Linked DNA regions of Homo sapiens: regions 1, 2, 3 and 5 are each linked to region 4. Evidence: promoter capture Hi-C in 16 types of primary human blood cells and fetal thymus (Javierre and others, 2016). All regions are on one chromosome and are shown on one strand. The core of a region is centred on a gene start or on the middle of the fragment in contact, and the rest is flanking DNA. Distances in the headings are between cores, read along the strand shown. Region 1 has its middle 30 kb from the start of SOAT1. Region 2 overlaps SOAT1 (sterol O-acyltransferase 1). Region 3 has its middle 16 kb from the start of ABL2. Region 4 holds the start of TOR3A (torsin family 3 member A). Region 5 overlaps SOAT1 (sterol O-acyltransferase 1).

What was found. The method cuts DNA at HindIII sites, captures the fragments that hold promoters and counts their contacts. A CHiCAGO score of 5 or more calls a contact.
Region 1: a fragment that was not itself captured here is called in contact with the fragment with the promoter of TOR3A in region 4 in 1 of 17 cell types (non-activated CD4 T cells); the score reaches 5.4 in non-activated CD4 T cells.
Region 2: a contact is called between a fragment that was not itself captured here and the fragment with the promoter of TOR3A in region 4, in 17 of 17 cell types (naive CD8 T cells, non-activated CD4 T cells, monocytes and 14 more). The highest score is 13.4, in naive CD8 T cells.
Region 3: a contact is called between a fragment that was not itself captured here and the fragment with the promoter of TOR3A in region 4, in 1 of 17 cell types (non-activated CD4 T cells). The highest score is 5.4, in non-activated CD4 T cells.
Region 5: a contact is called between a fragment that was not itself captured here and the fragment with the promoter of TOR3A in region 4, in 13 of 17 cell types (naive CD4 T cells, total CD8 T cells, monocytes and 10 more). The highest score is 12.1, in naive CD4 T cells.

What each region holds. Positions count from the first base shown.
Region 1 is chr1:179,262,540-179,265,602 of GRCh38, forward strand. No RefSeq gene overlaps it. Among named protein-coding and RNA genes, the nearest start is that of SOAT1, 30 kb to the right of the region's middle. The HindIII fragment of the contact is 1,956 bases long and covers 541-2,496 here.
Region 2 is chr1:179,297,309-179,300,437 of GRCh38, forward strand. All of the region lies in intron 1 of SOAT1 (sterol O-acyltransferase 1), which reads left to right. Among named protein-coding and RNA genes, the nearest start is that of SOAT1, 5.1 kb to the left of the region's middle. The HindIII fragment of the contact is 7,420 bases long and covers 1-3,129 here.
Region 3 is chr1:179,243,976-179,247,007 of GRCh38, forward strand. No RefSeq gene overlaps it. Among named protein-coding and RNA genes, the nearest start is that of ABL2, 16 kb to the left of the region's middle. The HindIII fragment of the contact is 3,685 bases long and covers 1-3,032 here.
Region 4 is chr1:179,080,661-179,083,466 of GRCh38, forward strand. It overlaps TOR3A (torsin family 3 member A), which reads left to right and starts at 1,410. Exons shown (of 6, transcript NM_022371.4): 1 at 1,410-1,727; 2 at 2,280-2,393. The coding sequence starts at 1,469. RefSeq lists silencers at 1,385-1,674, 1,815-1,984. The HindIII fragment of the contact is 9,470 bases long and covers 1-2,806 here.
Region 5 is chr1:179,315,115-179,318,384 of GRCh38, forward strand. All of the region lies in intron 2 of SOAT1 (sterol O-acyltransferase 1), which reads left to right. Among named protein-coding and RNA genes, the nearest start is that of SOAT1, 23 kb to the left of the region's middle. The HindIII fragment of the contact is 1,208 bases long and covers 757-1,964 here.

The DNA of each region.
Region 1 (3,063 bases), core at 269-2,768, 180 kb after region 4:
ATGATGAGGAAAACTATTAGATTAAAAGAATTAATATTAAGTTGTGAATAAATCTACAGCTCATTTTACAGAAATGTAATTGGTGGAATTTCAGACTTAATAGCAACGTAAAAAAATTTTAGGGGGTGCAGGGAAATTTAGGAAGGTACAAGTCACTTAAAGGGCCTGTCTGCTTTATAGCCTTGCTGCTTAAAGTGTGGTCCTAGGACCAATAGCAATGAAATCAGCTGGGAGCTTGTTAGAAATAAGAACCTCAGTTCCACGTGTCAAAATTTGCATTTTAACAAGATAGGGGAAACTCGGGGTAGTTTGTACGTATGTTAAAGTTTGAGAAGCACTGGTTTATAGTATTCCAAGTAGGCAAACACCTTTTCTCCTCTTTAATTTAAAGCGTGGTCAGCTATTGCTTATGAGGATCTGTAGTCAGTGAAGACCAATTTGATGTTTCTAAGCAGCCTTCCAATTGTTGACCCAAGGGCATAATTGCCACAAATACTCTATTATAATTTAATACATTTGGGGGGAAGAAGCATTCCAAAAAGCTTTTTTAACTCAGTGTTGAAGGGATGTACAGCAACTGAAAATTAGAAAACTGTCTAGGATACACAAGTACAGTAGTGAAACCAGAAATCAATGGCTGAATAAAGGATTTCAACCTGTATGACAATCTAAAGCAAATACAACTGTTAAATAAAATTTATGGGAGGCCATTGTTTTGGACTGAGCTTCTGCACTGGCCCAACAGACCAGGCCAAACCAGAATGGAGTCACTGAAACTAAGTGCCATATAATCAACTGAACTTTGAAATTGTCAGTTAAAACCAACCAACCAGGAGATTCACAGCAACCAATCAGAAGGGGCCCAGTTTACCTGACCAAGCATGTTAGAAAGTTCCCTCTGTTTTAACCCTATAAGAAAAGTAGCTGAAAGACCAATCTCCCTTTTGTTATCTTTCTACTTTCTTCAGTGCTTTTTTGCCTATAAAGCCAATCCCCTCTTATCAGCTCCGTGAAACGCCATTCTTTTATGTAGGATGAGATGTTACCTGTTTCTTGAATTGCAGATGAAAGTCAATTAGATATTTAAACTAATTTTTTTTTTGGTAACTTTGTCTTTTGAAGCAAGAATGGAATCACTACACAGTTGCTAGGACTGCTATTGAGAAGTAGAGGAGGAAGTTAATGTTGTGTTTATGTTAAATGTATTAACAAAGGTAGCCAATCCAATCCAATTAATTCCACAAGGTCTTTTTCAACTTCCATCTCCTATCTTGTATGAAGCCTTTTCTGCTTCTTTCTATACATCCGCCTTTATTAGGTGATCAACTGTCCTGGTTATCTTAGGACTATCCTGGTTTTCTCACTGGAGGTTCTGCATCCCAGGAGATCCCTCAGTCTCCAGCAAACCAGGACGATTGGTCACTCTACCTGCACTCCTAGCTAGAAATACTGCTTCTGACTTTTAACTTCTTTAGCTCTCTGAACTCTCACCATTTATTTAGCACCTGTCATATTTTGCTTTACATCATAATTATTTGCGTACAAGAAATGTTTCTGAGATTTGCTTACAAATTACTTCAGGGTAGAACTGCGTCTTTCATCATTTCCTTTGTTCCATGCAGCATTAATCCAGTGTTAGATTTGTAGGAGTCACTCAACAGTTTGAATGAAGGAATCTACTTGAAAAAAATAACTATTGCCAATTGGAACTATGCCTGCCATGGAGTTTCAATCTATTGAATCACAAAAGTGACAGTTTGGAAATCCAAATAGTCTTATATTCCTATTTTTGCATTTAGGACTATTTTAAATGTGGCTTCAATCCAACCTTTCACTCCTCCACTGTGTTCCTTGAACATGATTAATGCAAGAATATCCAGGGGGTAAAAGAAATCAAAAGATAAGCATTTTCCCAGAGAGTAGTGTTTACTTAAAGATTTTATTTTTTTAGTGGGGGTGTGTGAATGTCTGCACAATTAATATGTTTTGTCAGATTTTTCATTTGGGGCAGTATGAAAGATTAGGTGTCCAGAAAAATCCTCCTGGCATGCAACCCCTAAAAATGATGGAATACACGCACACACACACACACACACACATCACACACATACAAATGGTTAAAAGATAAACTTGACCACATTAATATTTTAATGAGTTTACTTGAGCATTCAGCAATGCATGAGTGGGGCAGCACCAGCCTGCAAGCAGTGAAGTGATCCAAGGGGAATGAGAGACAAACTTTTATGACGTGTTTGTGGAAGCAAGACAAATAAAATATATTTGATTGGTTAACGTGGAAATCCCTAGTTAGAAGTTAATTGATGGCTTCTGATTGGTTAGGCTTAAGTTTTCTTTTGCCATTTACATTGAACTTTGGTTTGCTTGGGTAGGAACCCAAGGTGCTGAAGCCATCTCAGCCTAATGGCCTCCCAATTAAACCATATGTGTGTGTGTTTACACACACACACACACACACACACACACGCACACTCAAAAAGCTTTAATATGTATGGCTCAGTTGGTAGGAAGACTTGAAATCAACAGTGCACTCAAATGTTAATATTTGCTCTGGGGGCATTTGTCTACATGGGTGGCCTAATGCTTGGGTTCTAGTAGATTCAGTGAGCAGGGGAGAAAACTAAGACTTAGCCCTTTATGGTGCAAGATTGGATGGAAGCCCCTGCATGGATTTGGGAACCGCCCCCCGCCCCCCACAAAGATACTTCACTTCAGCAGGTAAATTTAAAAAAAAATGGCAGGATTTGTCAGGGATGCTTGTCTGTCTCAACTTAAGTTTTGTCAGAGGAAAAATATGTTTTTATGAAAGTTCCTAACCATGCAAAACAACAACAACAACAACAACAACAAAAGCAAATCCCTAAAATCCCTAGATACAAATTTAAAGTGGCCTTAGATTGGTACTGCTCCACCTGGCAGAATTACCTGGGAGAGCAAATTCAAATACTCTCTGGAAGAAGGTGCTTTAAACCTGGACCTCAGAGAAATCCCAAGGAATATGAATGTATATTGGTAACTCTATGTTTAACTTTTTGAACAACTGCC
Region 2 (3,129 bases), core at 385-2,884, 220 kb after region 4:
CCCAATTGTGAAATATCCCATGTCCTGTCCTTTTCTTTTCTTTTTTGAGACGGAGTCCAGCTCTGTCACCCAGGCTGGAGTGCAGTGGCGCGATCTCGGCTCACTGCAACCTCCGCCTCCTGGGTTCAAGCAATTCTCTGCTTCGGCCTCCCGAGTAGCTGGGATTACAGGCACCTGCCATCACCCCTGGCTAATTTTTTGTATTTTTAGTAGAGACGGGGTTTCATCATCTTGGCCAGGCCAGTCTAGAATTCCTGACCTTGTGATCCACCCGCCTCAGCCTCCCAAAGTGCTGGGATTACAGGCGTGAGCCGGTGCGCTTGTTTAAGAAACAGTGGAAGGCCAAAGTAATGAGTAGAGAAAATGAGACAGCCAAGATCATGCCACTGCACTTCAACCTGGGCGACATGGCATGACTCCGTCTCAAAAAAAAAAAAAAAATGCCGGGCGCGGTGGCTCACACCTGTAATCCCAGCACTTTGGGAGGCCGAGGCAGGCGGATCACCTGAGGTTGGGAGTTCGACACCCCATCTCTACTAAAAATACAAAATTAGCTGGGTGTGGTGGCCTGTAACCCCAGCTGCTCCAGAGGCTGAGGCAGGAGAATCGCTTGAATCCAGGAGGCGGAGGTTGCGGTGAGCTGAGATCGTGCCATTGCACTCCAGTCTGACCAACAAGAGTGAAACTCTGTCTCAAAAAAAAAAAAAGATTGATGGTGTTTAAGGGGGTGGTGGTGAGTGGCAGGCAATGCAGAAGTTACTAGATCATGGTAAGGACTTAGGATGTTTGAAGGGGTTTAAGTTGTGAAGTGACTTGATCTAACTTGAGTGCAATGGTGTGATTGAGGTTCACTGCAACCTCCACCTCCGGGTTCAAGCGATTCTTCTGCCTCAGCCTCCTGAGTAGCTGGGACTACAGGTGCCTGCCACCACACCTGGCTAATTTTTTGTATTTTTAGTAGAGACGAGGTTTCACCGTGCTAGGCTAGCCAGGATGGTCTCGATCTCCTGACCTGGTGATCTGCCCACCTCGGCCTCCCAAAGTGCTGGGATTACAGATGTATTCCACCATGCCCGGCCCTGTTTTAGCTTTTGATGTAAGGTTTCCTCTAGAGTAGCTTGATGGTTGAGGAACCATCTTATTACCAAGGACTCCCTTTTTATATTTCTTCTTTTGGAGACAGGGTTTCACTCTGTTGTCTGGGCTGGAGTGCAGAGGTGCGACCTGTGCTCACTGCAACCTTCGCCTCCTGGGTTCAAGTGATTTTCCTGCCTCAGCCTCCTGAGTAGATGGGATTACAGGTGCTTGCCACCACGCCGGGCTAAATGTTTTTTGGGTAGTTTTAGCCTAGTGTACCTTAAATATGCTCCAAACACTTAATATTAGCCTACAGTTGGGCAAAATTATTGAACACAGACTATTTTACAATAAAGTGTTCATTATCTCATGTAATTTATTGAATACTATACTGAAAGTGAAAAACAGAATAGTTGTATGAGTACTCAAAATATGATTTCCACAGAATGCATGTTGCTTTTGCACCATCATAAAGTTGAAAAATTTTAAATTGAACCATCATAAGTTGGGGACTGTCTTGTGCTTAGAATAATTGGTTACATATTAACTGATACATTTGCTTTCTTTCTTAATGCCTGCCTGTTGTACTCCAGGTACTCCACACTAGATTTGGGGGAGTCTTACAGAAAATACTATGTAATCCCTATCTTTGAGAACTTAAGCCTAATGTAAGAGACAGAGAGTATTGCTCTCTGATTATAGGACAATGTAACATGTGACAGGATGCTCAGTGTAGTGGGACCGCAGAGAGGATGAGATGAGAGGTGGTGGTAAAGGAAACTTCAGAGGGTGAGTTGGAGGCGGTTTAGCGATTAGAGGGCAGGTTGTAGAATCTGATAGTCTTTGTTTTGAATTCTAGTTCTGCTGTTGGAGAATTATTTGATTTGGGACAAGTTAAATCACTTCCCTAAACTCATCTGTAAAATGAGGATAATACTTATCTAAGGTTGTAAAGATTAAATGTAATGTAAAAAGTTTAGCAGCACAGTGCCTAGAGGTACATAATAGGTGCTCATTAAATCAGAACTGTTGGTATTAATTCTATTACTGCTGTAGCTGTGATTCTTTGAAGGCTTGAGTAGGAGTTAGCTACATAAAAAAAGGGCAGAGGAGAAATAGCTTTCTATAGACAGGGAAGAGTATATGGGACACTATGGTGGCCAAAGAATATTTGGAAAATAACAATAGTATCTGTCTTGATTCTGTTGAGATGAAAATAATACATGTAAAACACATAAGCACTAAAAAAAATCAGCTGTTATTATTCTACTTTGAGAAATATTGCATTGTGCTATACTGTTTCATATGGCTTGGGTAATAAACTTTAATCTGGCATTTATTTTTTAATCATTTTGCTATCTTTTTTTTTTTTTTTTTTTTTTTTTTGAGACGGAGTCTTGCTCTGTTGCCCAGGCTGGAGTACAGTGGTGTGATCTCAGCTCACTGCAAGCTCCGCCTCCTGGGTTCATGCCATTCTCCTGCCTCAGCCTCCCGAGTAGCTGGGACTACAGGCGCCTGCCCCCATGCCCAGCTAATTTTTTTTTTTTTTGTATTTTTCGTAGAGATGGGGTTTCACTGTATTAGCCAGGATGGTCTTGATCTCCTGACTTCATGATCTGCCCACCTCAGCCTCCCAAAGTGCTGGGATTACAGGCATGAGCCACCGCACCCGGCTTCATTTTGCTGTCTTTTATGCTTTAAACTTTTGCTATATGCTCTTTAAAAGAGTATCTACTTTAAATTCCCCATCATCTGGCCAGAAAAAAAAAGTCTCTGTTCATCTGGCCAGAAAAAAAAAAATTCCCATTATTCCTTGTAAAATTCCTCTCTTACTGAAACATCTTGGTTCCTTTTGTGTCTTTCTTTTTCTTCCCTGATTTCCTCTACTTTGAGGCTGTCCCTCAAAGTTTAGTTTTCAGTTCTTACTTCTCTCATCATTTCTGATGAAGAGATAGATGCTCTTGTGGCTTCCTCTGTCACTTTTACACAGAATTGGACCATTGTAAGTTGGGCATCGTCTTGTGATTTATTAGCCCTGACTTTTCCCTTAAG
Region 3 (3,032 bases), core at 116-2,615, 160 kb after region 4:
TAACACCTTATAAAGGGCCTGAGTAAGCTGCTGGATTCTTCTGCGACATGAGGACACAACAAGAAGATGCCATCTATGAAGCCAAGAGTGAGCCCTCATCAGACACTAAATCTACTGGCCCCACGATCTTGGACTTCCTAGTCTCCAGAGCTGGGAGCAGTAAATACCTGCTGTTTATTTATTTATTTATTTTTATTTTTTTGAGACAAAGTTTCACTCTGTCGCCCAGGCTGGAGTGCAGCGGCGCAATCTCGGCTCACTGCTACTTCCACCTCCTAGGTTCAAGTGATTCTCCTGCCTCAACCTCCCAAGTAGCTGAGACTACAGGCGCCCGTCACTACACCTGACTAATTTTTGTATTTTTAGTAGAAATGGGGTTTCACCATGTTGGCCACACTGGTCTCAAATCCCTGACCTCAGGTGATCCGCCCACCTTGGCCTCCCAAAGTGCTAGGATCACAGGCGTAAGCCACCACTCCTGGCCCTGTTCTTTATTTTATTTTATTTTATTTTTTACTTTTAAGACAGAGTCTCACTCTGTCACCCAGGCTGGAGTGCAGTGGTGCAATCTCAGCTTGCTGCAAGCTCCGCCTCCCAGGTTCATGCCATTCTCCTGCCTCAGCCTCCGGAGTAGCTGGGACTATAGGCGCCCGCCACCACGCCCGGCTACTTTTTTGTATATTTTTTAGTAGAGACGGGGTTTCACCGTGTTAGTCAGGATGGTCTCGATCTCCTGACCTCGTGATCCGCCCGCCTCGGCCTCCCAAAGTGCTGGGATTACAGGCGTGAGCCACCGTGCCCGGCCCATGTTGTTTATAAATTACCCCAGTCTAAGGCATCTTTTTATAGCAGCTCAAACAGGCTAAGACAATAATAAAAGTTTTTGGTGAGTTTTCAATTTTCTTAAGACATGTAGAAACACTCAATGAGACTTTTGACAGAAATGGAAGAAGGTAGCCTATTTAGACATGTGCCTATAAGATGACTATCATTGATGCCTGCCATAGAAAATATTGACTTGCCATAACATCATATTTTCAAAGTATAGGATGAGAAGAATGTTCATTTCTAACTTGCAAATTATTCTGAAGATGAGAATGGAGAAAAGGATTACAGTAAAACAGAAATTTATGTGCCATTTCTCCAAAACTATTTGATGATCTTTAAAGAGGCCTAAGTAGCCTTAAAGCGGGGAAGGGTATGAATGGAACACCCCGAGTTGCTCACTGTTACATGTAGGTTGCAACAAAAAATCACAATGGAAAAAAAAGACTCATTTTTTTTAGAAATAAGCCCCCTTCAGAACTTAAAAAAAAAAAAAAAAGAGGTCGGGCACAGTGGCTCACACCTGTAATCCCAGCATTTTGGGAGGCTGAGGCAGGTGGATCAATTGAGGTCAGGAGCTCGAGACCAGCCTGACCAACATGGTGAAACCCCATCTCTACTGAAAATACAAAAAATTAGCCAGATGTGGTGTTGAGCACCTGTAATCTCAGCTACCTGAGAGGCTGACTCAGGAGACTATCACTTGAACCCAGGAGGCAGAGGTTGCAGTGAGCCAAGATTGTGCCACTGCACTCCAGCCTGAGTGACAGAGTGAAACTCCGTCTCAAAAGAAAAAAGAAAAAAGTGTCACCAGGAAAGGATAGCCAAGTTAAACAAGACTTTCAATTTCAGTACTAAAACTGTAACTTGGGCTGTGTGCAGTGGCTCACACCTGTAATCTCAGCACTTTGAGAGGCTGAGGCAGGCAGATCACTTGAGCCCAGGAGTTCAAGACCAGCCTGGGCAACATGGTGAAACCCTATCTCCATAAAAAATCCAAAAAGTTAGCCGGGTATGGTGGTGTGTGCCTGTAGTCCCAGCTACCTGGGAGGCTGAGGTGAGAGGATCATCTGAGCCCAGGAGGTTGGGGCTGCAGTGAGCTGTGATTGGACTACTGCACTCCAGCCTGGGGACAGAGTAAGACCCTGTCTCATAAAATAAAATAAAATAAAATAAAATAAAATAAAATAAAATAAAATAAAATAAAATAAAATAAAACTGTAATTTATTTGCAATTCAACTTCAATTTCACGGGTTCAAATTACCTCTGTGCTTTAAAATCATTTCCCCTGAGAAAGAGAGGTTTAACTTATGATGATATCCAATGTGCTTCAGAGTGTATAGTCTGTTTCTCTTTTCCTTGAATCTGGACTGGTCCTGTGGTTTGCTTTGACCAATGAATATGGCAGAATTGACTCTGATTTTGGAGCCTACGTCATAAAACACCTTTCATCTTCTATCTTCTACACCTGTAAGACTCCCACTTGAAATACAGCTGAAAGGTTCAAAACAAGATTTACCTGTAAAATTTAAGATGAGAATATTGACCATCAGTTTCAAAATTATTTCCTGAATTAATAAGTATAATAACCTAAGTTAATATATAGGAATCTCTTATATAGGACTATATGATAGAAATGGAAGAAACTGATGGAGAAATAAGTAATCCTAAGATGTTAGGCAAGTTAGGCAGCAGGAAAAAAGGGCCTACTGAATGCTAATAATAAACTTTAGTTTCTTGATACAATCACCATTTAAAAATTAGAATCATTAAAATAATTTCTGAACCCATAATTGGTATAAATTTTTCTTTTTTCTTTTCTTTTTTTTTTTTTTTTTTTGAGTCAGAGTCTCGCTCTGTTGCCCAGGCTGGAGTGCAGTGGCACAATCTTGGCTCACTGCAACCTCCATCTCCTGGGTTCAAGTGCTCTCCTGCCTCAGCCTCCTGAGTAGCTGGGATTACAGGCATGTGCCACCATGCCCGGCTAATTTTTGTATTTTTAGTAGAAACGGGGTTTTTCCACGTTGGCCAGTCTGGTATCAAACTTTTGACCTCAGATGATCCGCCCACCTCAGCCTCCCAAAGTGCTGGGATTACAGGCTTGAGCCACTGTGCCAGCCTGGCATAAATTTTTCTACTAAATTAGAGGAAGGTAACATGGAACTGTATGACCCTTGAAGCATCAGAAAATCTCACTGGGACTGAG
Region 4 (2,806 bases), core at 160-2,659:
TCGGCCTTCTAAAGTGCTAGGATTACAGGCGTGAGCCACCACACCCTGCCTAATTTTTTTTGGTTTTCCAATAAGCACTGTGGTGTATGTGCTGTTAACTGTCTCCGGTGGACTCCGCAAGCTCGATGTACACAGTGCTGGGCTGGTGCCATGGCTGCTACTCTATGAAAAGTTTTTGACATCACACTGAATGGCTGAGACACTATAAACATTTTACTTTTCAACTCAACCTCGTGTCCTAGCAAAGGTGCTTTATCTAGTTTCTGTAGCTGTTCGAATGAAAGGCACAAATTTGGTGAGCTGCTGAGAATGGAGCAGACCTGGCACGGTGTGATCTAAGAGACTGGGGTGAACAGATGAATCAAGTTGCCTGTGACATTTGTGAGACACGGTGCTAGTATTCACCTTACTGTCTGGAGGGCCCAACCTCAAAGCCACTAAACATATGACATTAGCCAAGTCCTCTGATCTCTCTAGACAGCAGTTTTCTCCTAAGACAAGACGGCTTTTTGGCTTGGCTGAAGTAAGCCAGGTGATTTTAAACAATGCATTAAGCTCTTCTGAAATCTAACAGCCTTGTTCCATGCTCCTCGCTATGGAGAAGAGAGCGCTGAGGGAAAGAGGCCCTGTAGTCTTTTGCCAATGGTGTCGGATGGGCTGCTCAGTCCCAGCACTTGAAAGTTGCAAACCTAGTCAAGAAAGTGCACACAGTACTTCGGATTTTTATGAGATATAATTACATTGACATGACGCCTCATGATTTACCCATGACTCGGGGGGTTTCCAAACTCCAAACACCTCCAGACTGGAGCCCGTCAATCAGCTTCCTCTTGCTTTTCGTGGACTCCCACTGTGGAAACCTGCTGGTGTTTTGCTGCGGTTTCATTTCCCTCTGCGGAGGAGCCAGGGCAACCTTGGCCAGACAGGCACCTAGCTGTGCCCTTCTTTCCAGGGCCTCTTCTCCACTCAGCTGACTCCCCTGGCCTGCCTAACGCTCCTGACTGAGACGGTTTTCCGGCTTCCTCTAACAGGTTGGCGGGAAGTTGATCTGCAAACGCGAGGCAAAGCAGGAGTGTCCTTATTCGGTAGGCCTCTGATGGGCCACCAGAGCCGTCCGAAAGTCCTAGCGGAGTGATTGACAGTGGCCATTTCAAAGCCTGAGTTCACCTTCTTTGCAACCACAATCACGACCCAGAATAAACTGCTTCCTGGAAGCCGGCTAGTTGCACCTGGCCTGAAGTCAGTCTCGGGACTGCCTCTCAGGACCCCAGACAGGGTTTCGGGTTCCCGCCTGGGTCACGTGTACGGAGGCTGCCAGTGCGCACTCAGCCCGGCCCGCCGGTCGCCACAGCAACACCAATCCCGGGTTCAAGCCCGCCTAGGAAGTGCGGTCCCCGCCTGACCGCCCCGGGCTTAAGGGAGCCTGGCTAGGCCGGCAGCCGGATGGTCCCGCAGCTCGGGGCCGGCCATGCTTCGCGGTCCGTGGCGCCAGCTTTGGCTCTTTTTCCTGCTGCTGCTCCCGGGCGCGCCTGAGCCCCGCGGCGCCTCCAGGCCGTGGGAGGGAACCGACGAGCCGGGCTCGGCCTGGGCCTGGCCGGGCTTCCAGCGCCTGCAGGAGCAGCTCAGGGCGGCGGGTGCCCTCTCCAAGCGGTACTGGACGCTCTTCAGCTGCCAGGTGTGGCCCGACGACTGTGACGAGGACGAGGAGGCAGCCACGGGGCCCCTGGGTAAGACCCCGTCCCCACGGTCCGCCGTTCGCTGCGGAGCAGAGTGCGATCCGGGCGCGGCTGTGGTCGCCTCGCTCCTGTCCGGGGCGACATCTGGGCCCGCAGTCCTGCTCTGCTCAGCCGCCGGTACCGGCTGTGGGCGGGGGCAGCCTCCGCGGAGCAGGGAGCCCCATCACCGCCCTTGCCCCACCCGCGTCCCCTGCGCACCCCCCTGGCGCCCGGCTTCCCGTCCCCCGCCTCCCCTGATCCCTGCGCTTTCCAGATTCTCTCGCACCGCCTGTGCCATCTCCCAGCCCACCCTGGCGTTATTCGAAGGTGTTGCTCTTGACAGCTCTAGGGAACGTCCGCTGTGGACATGCCTGGTGACTGCCGTCTCCCTTGCTGCTTTTGGACGCAGGGCTTGAGGACCGACAGTGGGCCGAGTCGGGGCTGGGAGTTAGAATCTGAGTTCTGGGTGTCCCTCTGTCCCTGACAAGTTGTGTGGCAAGGTTGCCGCATCACTGTAGAGCACCGGATGGTCTCCTCTCGGTCTCACAGCTCCTCCTTTTCCAGGCTGGCGCCTTCCTCTGTTGGGCCAGCGGTACCTGGACCTCCTGACCACGTGGTACTGCAGCTTCAAAGACTGCTGCCCTAGAGGGGATTGCAGAATCTCCAACAACTTTACAGGTTGGACCCCGCATGGCTTCAAGGGGCTAGGGATCTGTGGGGAGGGGAGGCAGTCCAGGGGAAATGGTTAGATGCAAGGGACCTTTCGTCATCCTGCCCAGCCTCCCGACAAGCAGGAACTGCCACAGTCTGACTGAAGTTTTGAGGGAGTACCAAATGCTTGAGTCAGGGAAGCCCCTTTTTAGCCTCTAGCTTAATAGCCCAGGCAAACTGAGCTGTTTGTCAGGCCCAGAGCACCTTGTTTCACTCTAAACAGAAACAGCTACCTCTCAGAGGGGGCTGGAACTATCCAGAGAGAACTGATCAGAAATTCTGGGTTGTGATTAAAAGTGTCCCTTTCTTTTCTTTTTTTTTTTTGAGACGGAGGCTTGCTCTGTCACCCACACTGGAGTGCAGTGGTGCGATCTCAGCTC
Region 5 (3,270 bases), core at 111-2,610, 230 kb after region 4:
AAGCCTTGAGTTGAGTGCTTGTAAATAGTTCTTCAAATCATTGGATGTGGGTGGGGATGGTGGCTCATCCTTGTAATCCCAACAGTTTCAGAGGCCAAGGCATGAGGATTGCTGGAGGCCAGGAGTTCAAGACCAGCCTGGGCAACATAGCGAGGCTCTGCCTTTACAAAAAAATTTTTTTTAATTAGGTGGGTGTGGTGGCATGTGAGTGTGGTGGCATGTGCCTGTAGTCCTAGGTACTTGGGAGGCTGAGGCGGGAGGATCCCTTGAGCCTAGGAGTTCCAGGCCACAGTGAGCTATGATCATGCCATAGCCACTGCCCCCTAGCCTGAGCAACAGAGTGAGAACCTGTCTTAAAAAAAAAAAAGCAGTGGATATTAGCTTTTAGGCATTCTTTTGACTTTGACATCTAATTTTTAAATTTTAAATTGTAGAAAGTTAAGAATTTCTTTGTAATATTGTATGAAGAGGTATTTTGAAGGTAAAGGAAAATGAATTAGCATTTTAAAATATATTTTTCTTCCACTTACTTAACTTTGTCATTTTCAGTGGGGTCTTCAGAGACTCTGTGAACAAATCTTTTTTCTAACTTTCCAGTGGCTGCATCTCAAAGCCTGTTTGTAATGATGGCTGTCGTGTTATTTATGGATAGACAGATTCTTTTTGGAAGGGATGCACAAGTAGTGAGAATTAATCTTTTACAGTCTCCTTACCAATCCTCCTCTCCCATGGTAGCTGAATTAGTTGAAGGAAAGAAGCTTTTGTCTTCATTTTTTTATGAAATAGTTCATTTATGAAACCATGGTCTGGTCATAGAACTAAATTAAAAATATATTCTTTAACTTATTGAAAAATCAAATGGACATTTGTCTTACCCTTATATTTCTTAATCAGTTACCAATTTGTAAATATCTTAAATTAATCCTCTGCTCTCCATTCTCCTTGCCATTTACAACATCACTTTTTGTCCGGATTTATTGCATTTCTCTGTTATGTGGTCCTTTCCATCTTCCAATATCAGCTCAGTATTTTCCTGCATAAAATTCTTAGTTTCCTCAAAGCCCTTGTTATTATATGACCTAGCCTTCTTCCCAGTCATCAATTCTGCCATTATCGATAATTGAAGACATTCCACTGTCTCCTGGCTTCCATTGATGTTAAGTCAGGTATGCGTTGTAATTGCAGTACTTGCGTAGTTGATATTCTTTCTGGGTGCTTTTAGTTTTTTTTTTTAACCCCTGCGTCAGACAGTTTCACTGTGATATATCTAAGTCGATTATTATTATTATTTTTTCTTTTGAGATGGAGTTTCACTCTTGTTGCCCAGGCTGGAGTGCAATGGTATGATCTCGGCTCACCGCAACCTCCACCTCCCGGGTTCAAGCGATACTCCTGCCTTAGCCTCTTGAGTAGCTGGGATTACAGGCATGTGCCACCACGCCAGCTAATTTTGTATTTTTAGTAGACAGGGCTTCTCCATGTTGGTCAGGCTGGTCTCAAACTGCCGACCTCAGGTGATCCACCTGCCTTGGCTTCCCACAGTGCTGGGATTACAGGCGTGAGCCACCACGCCTGGCACTAAGTAGATTATTTATCCTGCTTGGAATTCTTTGACTTTATCCTAGAATTTGTGTCTCTCAACAGTTCTGGCCAATTCTCAGCTATAATCACCTCAAATATTATCTCTCTGTATAGAGCTCTGATTAGATGCATTTTGTACCTTCTCATTCTTCATGTCTTTCTTCCAAGTGACATACTGTGAAAAGAAATGTCCAATAGAAGATTAAATTATATTTCTACCATAAAAACAGAGTAATAGGGCAGTGAAAATAATATACAAGAATATGTAATGACAGAGAAAAATGTTTACAATATATTAAGTGAAAAAAACAGGTTATAAAGCAGTATGTGTATGAGTTTGTTTTTATGTTTTTATGGTTTGTTTTTAAGGGAAGGGGTTATTAAGCTTAAATTACCCCAAATATGCCTCCAAAGTTCATTTTGGCAAAGTAAATATTTCTGTTCAGTGTATTTTTTCTGGGAAATTACTTTTATAAATTTGAATGGCTTTTAATCTTCCTTTTTAGGCAAAATATACAATAGCAATTGTCAATGCTGAAATAAAAATACTTAAGCTGGCCTGGCGCGGTGGCTCACGCCTATAATCCTAGCACTTTGGAAGGCCGAGGCGGGCGGATCACGAGGTCAGGAGATCGAGACCATCCTGGCTAACACAGTGAAACCCTGTCTCTAGTAAAAATACAAAAAATTAGCCGGGCGTGGTGGCGGGCGCCTGTAGTCCCAGCTACTTGGGATGCTGAGGCAGGAGAATGGTGTGAACCCAGGAGGCGGAGCTTGCAGTGAGCCGAGATCGCGCCACTACCCTCCAGCCTGGGTGACAGAGCGAGACTCCGTCTCAAAAAAAAAAAAAAAAATACTTAAGCTATTACCATGTAGAGTAAATAAGAAAATACAAATTCTCAATTTTAAAAATTCATCTGCCAAAGTGATAGTTCATCATCATAGGTTTTTTTTTTTTTTTAACGAAGATAGCAAACTAGACGTTGTGGTTTTCTGTTTCACAGTTTTCAGTATTCATTCCATTCTGTTTCATTCACTTATCTGTGTAGGTCTGTGCACATAATGACGTCTGATGTTTCTCGGTTCCCATAATATAACAGATGACTTGACACTTTATTAAAAGGATAGAATAAAGATATTTAGTATCTCATTATTCACAAACTCATTTGTGAATAATGGCAGATGGCATTCAAAATTAACTCTACCCTGGGCTAAGCATGGTGACACATGCCTATAATCTCAGCATTTTGGGAGGCTGAGGCAGGAGGATTGTTTGAGGCCAGGAGTTAAGTCAAGCCCAGCCAGGGCAACATAGTGAGACCTTGTCTCTACAAAACACTTAAAAAAAAATTAGCTGGGTGTGGTGGCACACATCTATGGTCCCAGCTAGCGGGGCGGCTGATGCAGGAGGATCACTTGAGATCAAGTGTTAGAGGCTGCAGTGAGCTGTGATTGTGCCACTGCAGTCCAACCTAGATGACAGAGTGAGATCCTGTCTCAAAAAAAGCCCCCAAAACTCTACCCATATTTTATTAAAAGGGCAGAGATCAATTAATCCCACTGCTTTTAAAATTATAATGGTACCATGATTCAGTGTGAAAATAAGAAACTGTCTCTAAATCTGTGACAATAATAAAGCTCAGTATGCACCATACATACACAGGAGTTATACAGAGCAGCACATTCTCA